2 separate regions of the Homo sapiens genome follow, and region 1 is linked to region 2. Evidence: promoter capture Hi-C in human tissues and cell types (Jung and others, 2019). All regions are on one chromosome and are shown on one strand. Each heading gives the region's core, a stretch centred on a gene start or on the middle of the fragment in contact. The rest is flanking DNA. Distances are from core to core; before and after follow the strand shown.

Region 1 (2,700 bases), core at 2-2,501, 240 kb after region 2:
TGAAGTGAGCAGATGCTTCTCCCAGGTGTTGGGCACCCACCCACACCATGCCAACGCTTCTCCTGGCATGGCTCCTATCAGCCCTGCTTGGCCCCTGGCTAGCCCTGCACTGCCTTCCTCTGCAGGACTGTGTTCATTCACTCCCAGAAAGAGCCTGGCTCTGAGCACAAGCTTGAGAACACTGTGGAATGAGGACTGTCCCCTCAGCAGAATGGAAGCCCATCCTGCAGGAGGAAGGAGAGGAGGAAGCAGGAGCCTGCTCTGGACCAGTATGGCAGGAGGGGCTGAGTCGCCTCTCCCTACTCACTGTTCTCAGTCCCCGAGGCTCAGGAAGGAAGCCCTAATCCAGGCTGGCATTTCTATTCAGGGGGTAGGGTGGGGTGGCGTGAGGCTGGAGGGAGGGAGAGCCACAACGGAGCCGGGGCAGAAATCGAGAAGATCCATGGCTGGTCTTCAAGGTGGTCACAGGGACAGTGACCAAGTGCGCTGAGTCATGACAGAGGTGGGCTGAGGGGAGGGCAGGCTGTGAGAACCCAGAGGGGGACACGTGACTCTGGGGCTTGGAGACAACAGAGAACAGCCCCGGAAGTTGGACCTCTCTGTGCCTTCGTGTCTACAAAATGAGCACATTCCTGTCCTGTCCACAACGTTACAGCCAGACCCACAAGGTGAGGGTGGTAAGGGTGCTCTGTAAACCTCAAGCTCTGACTGACAGCTTGATCCTGGGAGAGGGGCTGCAGCAGGTGGAAACGAAATGACGACACTGCCACCGACCAAGGGAGCTGACCTATCCTAGGCCCCTCCTCTGCCACGTGCCTGCTCCACAGCCTGGGCACATACCCTGCCCTAAGGACTGTGCTAAGCCCACACAAACAACCCATGTCAGCATCACGGGAAAGGACAGGCAGCTGGACTAGACCTGGCTTGCTTGGGACCTGGCTCCCCTGATTGGCTGAGGACAGCTGGGGCTGAGGACAGCTGGTCAGCACAGGAAAGCCTGCCCCAAAACACACCTTGAGAAACCCACACTGCTCTGCTTCTGTGCCGGAAAGGCTGTAATCAGTCAAGTTCCCCTTCCCTGCTGGGAAGTGTGTTCTAAGCATGGCCCCTGTCCACACAACAGTGGCACTAATAAAGCTACAGAATCTTCTGAGCTTTTCGGTGGGGACAGAAGGGGGTGAAACCTCTGCCATACAACACCTGTAATTATTCCCTTAAAATGTAAACTCAGAAAGACTGCCAGGTGTTGCCAGCTAGTCTTATCTGACCTGCTACATGGCCAAGTTTAAAAATAAACAGCTCTCAGTGTTAGAAACTAAGGTGCCAAGCGGCAAGGCCTTCCACGTGATAGGAACTTACCCGAGTTCTGAGTTAACTCGGCAAGTGCAAGTGTGTCCTATGGATGACAAGGGCTATAGTCCTGTGTCCCCAAGGAAAGTGGACAAAAGCTCATGGAGCCTGTGCCTTCTGGTGATGGGCGCTAATGCTCCCCATAAAAATCACACCCCGCTCTGGAACTGGGAAATGCACTCTTGCCCCAATCTTAAAAGACAGAAAACTGGCATAGAGAGGGTCACAACGTGCCCAGAGCCCCCGGCTGGGGTGTAGCTGCCTCCAGGCCACAGGACCTGTGCCGGGGCCCCATACCTTTCTCCACGAGCTGCCTCCAGCGCCGGGCCCACTCAGTGAGCTGCTGCGCATACGCCTTCTCGATGCGCGCCCGCTCATGCAGGCAGTTCATGAGGTCGCTGCACAGGCGGTGGCCATCGTCGATCCGCTTCACAGTCCGCTTGTAGTTCCCGACCTAGGAGAGAGAACCAGCTGGGAGGCAGGGGGCTTGGGGCAGCCTGTCCTTGGCTGTGGCACAAATGGCCTCCATGCCAACCAGGCCCTGATGCGCCCCTGGGGTCATGTTTACCACACCCCTCTCCAAGAGTTTGAAAGGCACTCCGTGTAGTTAGATAATGAGCCTCTCTATTTTTATTATTAATAAGATCATACACATCAGTGAACGGGGGCTTCTCAATGTTCTTTAGGTTGGGTACCAAGTAGAAACTGGGCTGTGGGTCAGGAAGGGAGGCTGACTGGCTCAGGAAGGGGTGGGGCTGAGGATGCCTAAACGGGCACCTCACGCAGACTGAGGGGCTGGGGCTGGCTTCCTGGAGTAGGTGACATCTAACCAAAGCCTTCTGCTTTGATGTCATCCATCATGTGCTGGGTTATTACTTCCCAATCATAGCTGTAAAAACTTTTCCACTTCCTGAGCACCTACCATGTGCCAGGCGACCTGCTAGGTGTTTTACACCTCCAAATACTGTCTCCCCTACCTAGTAGGAATAAGTGTCCCCATTTTACAGATGAGGAAACAAAGGCTTAGAGAAGTTACGTGGTTTGTCAAGATCCTGCAGCCACAGTGGCTAGGCTGGAGCTGAAGGCAATTGTTTTTTTTTTTGAGACACAGTCTCGCTGTCGTCAGGCTGGAGTGCAGTGGCACGATCTCGGCTCACTGCAACCTCCGCATCCCAGGTTCAAGTGATTCTTCTGCCTCAGCCTCCTCAGTAGCTGGGACTACAGGCACGCATGCCATCACACCCAGCTAGTTTTTGTATTTTTAGTGGAGACAGGGTTTCACCATGTTGGCCAGGATGGTCTCAATCTCCTGACCTTGTGATCCACCCACATCAGCCTCCCAAAGTGCTG
Region 2 (2,919 bases), core at 384-2,883:
TACTCAGGACACTGAGGTAGAAGGATCACTTGTGCCCAAGAGGTTGAGGCTGCAGTGAGCTATGATCGCGCCACTGCACTACTGTCTGGGTGAGAGACTCTTCTCAAAAAAGAAAAAAGAAAAAAGAAATGTATGGAGCAGCCAGGTGCAGGGGACGTGGCCATAAATCCAACCACCAGCTGGAAGGTATGGAACACCACCAAAAACAGCAGGGAAGGGTTGGGTGGAGACCAGGGGAAGCTTTAGAGACACAGGCAGGACATTTCAACAATAAAGGAGGCAGATGCTTTCTGGGGAAAAATGGGCCGGGTGTTGCATGGAGGTTGGGGTGATGCCCACAGGTTCACCCTGGCCAAGGTTGCCTGGGGTCTGAACATCCCGAAGTTCTGGGTTGGGCCACACTTTCCTTAGCAACCACCCAAGCCAAGAGGCCTTTTGCCTGGATCCCCAAGGAGGAGACTCCAGGTCCTCCCCAAGGAGGGAGGACCCAGGTGCCCTCCAAGTGGCAGATGCCAGGCATAGAGGTAGAGGTGGAGGTGGAGGAGCACTGGGCTGATTCCTCCTGTGCCAGCCTCCCCACGCCTAGCGGGTCACAGTTGACAGGAGAGCTGCCCTCTGCAGCCGCAGCCTCCACATGTCCACACAGACTCAAGCCTCCAGCCTCACCATGGTCAACTTTTGAGAAACTGGGGAGAGGAGGTGGCCTGGGGGGAAGGGAAGGTGGCTCTAGGCCAGCCCAGGAGTGACAGCAGCAGAGTGGACTTTGAAACCCCATGGAGCAGGCTCCTTCCGGCGGCAGCGTTGTGGGACGGTGGCCAAGACTAGTTTGCATTTCCCCATCTGTGAAATGGGGCAAACAGCACTGACACCGCAAAGTGTGAGGTCCCCAGCACAGCTTGCAGGGTCAGTGGGAGCCTGGCCTTGATGGGAGCCTGGCCCACTGAGCATTGGGAGGATGCCCCCGTGTCATCCGGGTTCTGTTCCTTGTTGCTAAACGTGCAAAACCCTCTGACATAGTGACATCGCACACACACACACGTTCAGTCGCAGTCAGTGACATCGCCCATTCACATACTCCCGTACACACACACACACCCCATCACACGTTTCCATGCCCGCCCTTCACACCCACGGTCACACTCACACACACATTCACTCTCAAGCCATTCACACGCTCGCTCACACACTCACACTCAGCGGCACACACGCTCACAACCACGGGTCCCTCCAGCAGCCAAGGCCCCACGGCGGCCAGGGCAGGGCCCAGGTGCCCCCGGGTGCTGGGCTCTGGCGCGCCCCCCGGGCAGGAGGGCTGGGTCCCCGCTGCAGACTGCCAGGGCGTAAGTAGCGGTCACCACGTAGCTCGCCCAGGCCCTTGTGGGGTGGGGTGGGGCGCGGCGGGCTGGGCGGGCGAAGTGGGTGCGGCCGGGTGCGGCCCGGGTCCCGCGTCACCTCCCGCAGGCCAGCCCGCCCCCTCGCCGCCGGGTCCCAGTCCCTCGCGACGCCCCGCGGCCCCGGCGCCCCCTCCCCGCCTACCGTGCTGAGCTGGGCCCCCATGGTGGCCCCGCGCCGCGCTCGCTCTGTCGCCGCCGCCGCCGCCGCCGAGACCGTCGCGCCCGGGCCCGCGTCACTCCGGAGCAGGGGCGGGGCCGAGGGGCCAGGCGGGCGCGCGGGGCGGGGCGGGCGCGGGGGCGGGGACCGGGTCGCTCCGCCTGCTTCTGCCGGGGATGGAGACTGGGAACTGGGGATGCGGCCCTCTGCGCTCCGAGCTCTCCCGCCGCTGTGCTGCCCCGCGCGGGACGGTGGCCTCTCTGGGCCTCGTTCGCCGCCATAAAGGAAGCAAGATGGCGCCCCCCGGATGGGAGCGAGAATAAGAGGCGGAATCTTCCCCCGGCCTCCGAGACTGCAGGGGCCGGTCCTGCCTGGCCTGGCCTGGGCCTGTGCCTGCAGCTGCTCAGCGCGGCCCTTCCCCGGGCCTTTGAATTTGTAGTTCCCTGGGCAGCACTGTTCCCAGCTGCCTCGGGCCGGGTTAAATGCTGCGGTCTCAGCACGGCCCGCCCGGAGCCTCCTCGCCGGCGGCGCCTCCGCTCCCCACGCCATTGTCCCACTGTGGAGTGATCTTTGTCCCACTTAGCTGAAGGCCTCCTGCGTGTTTCCCCCACTCCCACCCCATCCCAGTGGACTGTGCGCTCCCGGAGGGCAAGGCCCTATCTGGTTTGAAGTCCCGTACATCCCCAGAGCCTAGCCACACAGAGCCTAGCATATAGTAGGTGCTCAATAAATACCTTTTTTTTTTTTTTTTTTTTTGGTAAAGCAGGGTCTCACTCTTGCCCAGACTGGAATGCAGGAGCCTGATCACAGCTCACTTTAGCCTCAACCTCCCAGGCTCAAGTGTTCCTCCTGCCTCAACCTCCTGAGTAGCTGGGCACATGCCACCACGTCCGGCTAATTGTTTTTTTTTTTGAGACGCAGTTTCGCTCTTGTTGCCCAGGCTGGTATGCATTGACGCGATCTCGGCTCACCGCAAACTCCGCCTCCAGGGTTCAACAGATCCTCCTGCCTCAGCCTCCCGAAATTACAGGCATGTGCCACCACATCTGGCTAACCAGCTAATCTTTTTTTTTTTTTTTTTTTTTTTTTTTTTGAGACAGAGTCTCGCCCTGTCCCCCAGGCTGGAATGCAGTGGCGCCATTTCGGCTCAATGCAAGCTCCGCCTCCAGGGTTCACGCCATTCTCAGCCTCCCGAGTAGCTGGCACTACAGGCACCCCACCGCGCCCGGCTAATTTTTTGTATTTTCAGTAGGGACGGGGTTTCACCGTGTTAGCGAGGATGGTCTCGATCTCCTGACCTCGTGATCCGCCCGCCTCGGCCTCCCAAAGTGCTGGGATTACAGGCGTGAGCCACCGCGCCCGGCCTAA

What was found. The method cuts DNA at HindIII sites, captures the fragments that hold promoters and counts their contacts. A contact is called where the count stands out against the background at its distance.
Region 1: a fragment that was not itself captured here is called in contact with the fragment with the promoter of CYB5R3 in region 2 in 1 of the 25 tissues and cell types used here (IMR-90 fibroblasts).

What each region holds. Positions count from the first base shown.
Region 1 is chr22:42,891,810-42,894,509 of GRCh38, forward strand. It overlaps PACSIN2 (protein kinase C and casein kinase substrate in neurons 2), which reads right to left. Exons shown (of 11, transcript NM_001184970.3): 3 at 1,648-1,804. Among named protein-coding and RNA genes, the nearest start is that of ARFGAP3, 36 kb to the left of the region's middle. RefSeq lists an enhancer at 1,214-1,313. The HindIII fragment of the contact is 5,092 bases long and covers 1-2,700 here.
Region 2 is chr22:42,647,759-42,650,677 of GRCh38, forward strand. CYB5R3 (cytochrome b5 reductase 3) reads right to left here and starts at 1,634. Exons shown (of 9, transcript NM_000398.7): 1 at 1,537-1,634. The coding sequence starts at 1,557. RefSeq lists silencers at 1,145-1,494, 1,515-1,704, 2,015-2,114 and an enhancer at 1,809-2,622. The HindIII fragment of the contact is 6,582 bases long and covers 1-2,851 here.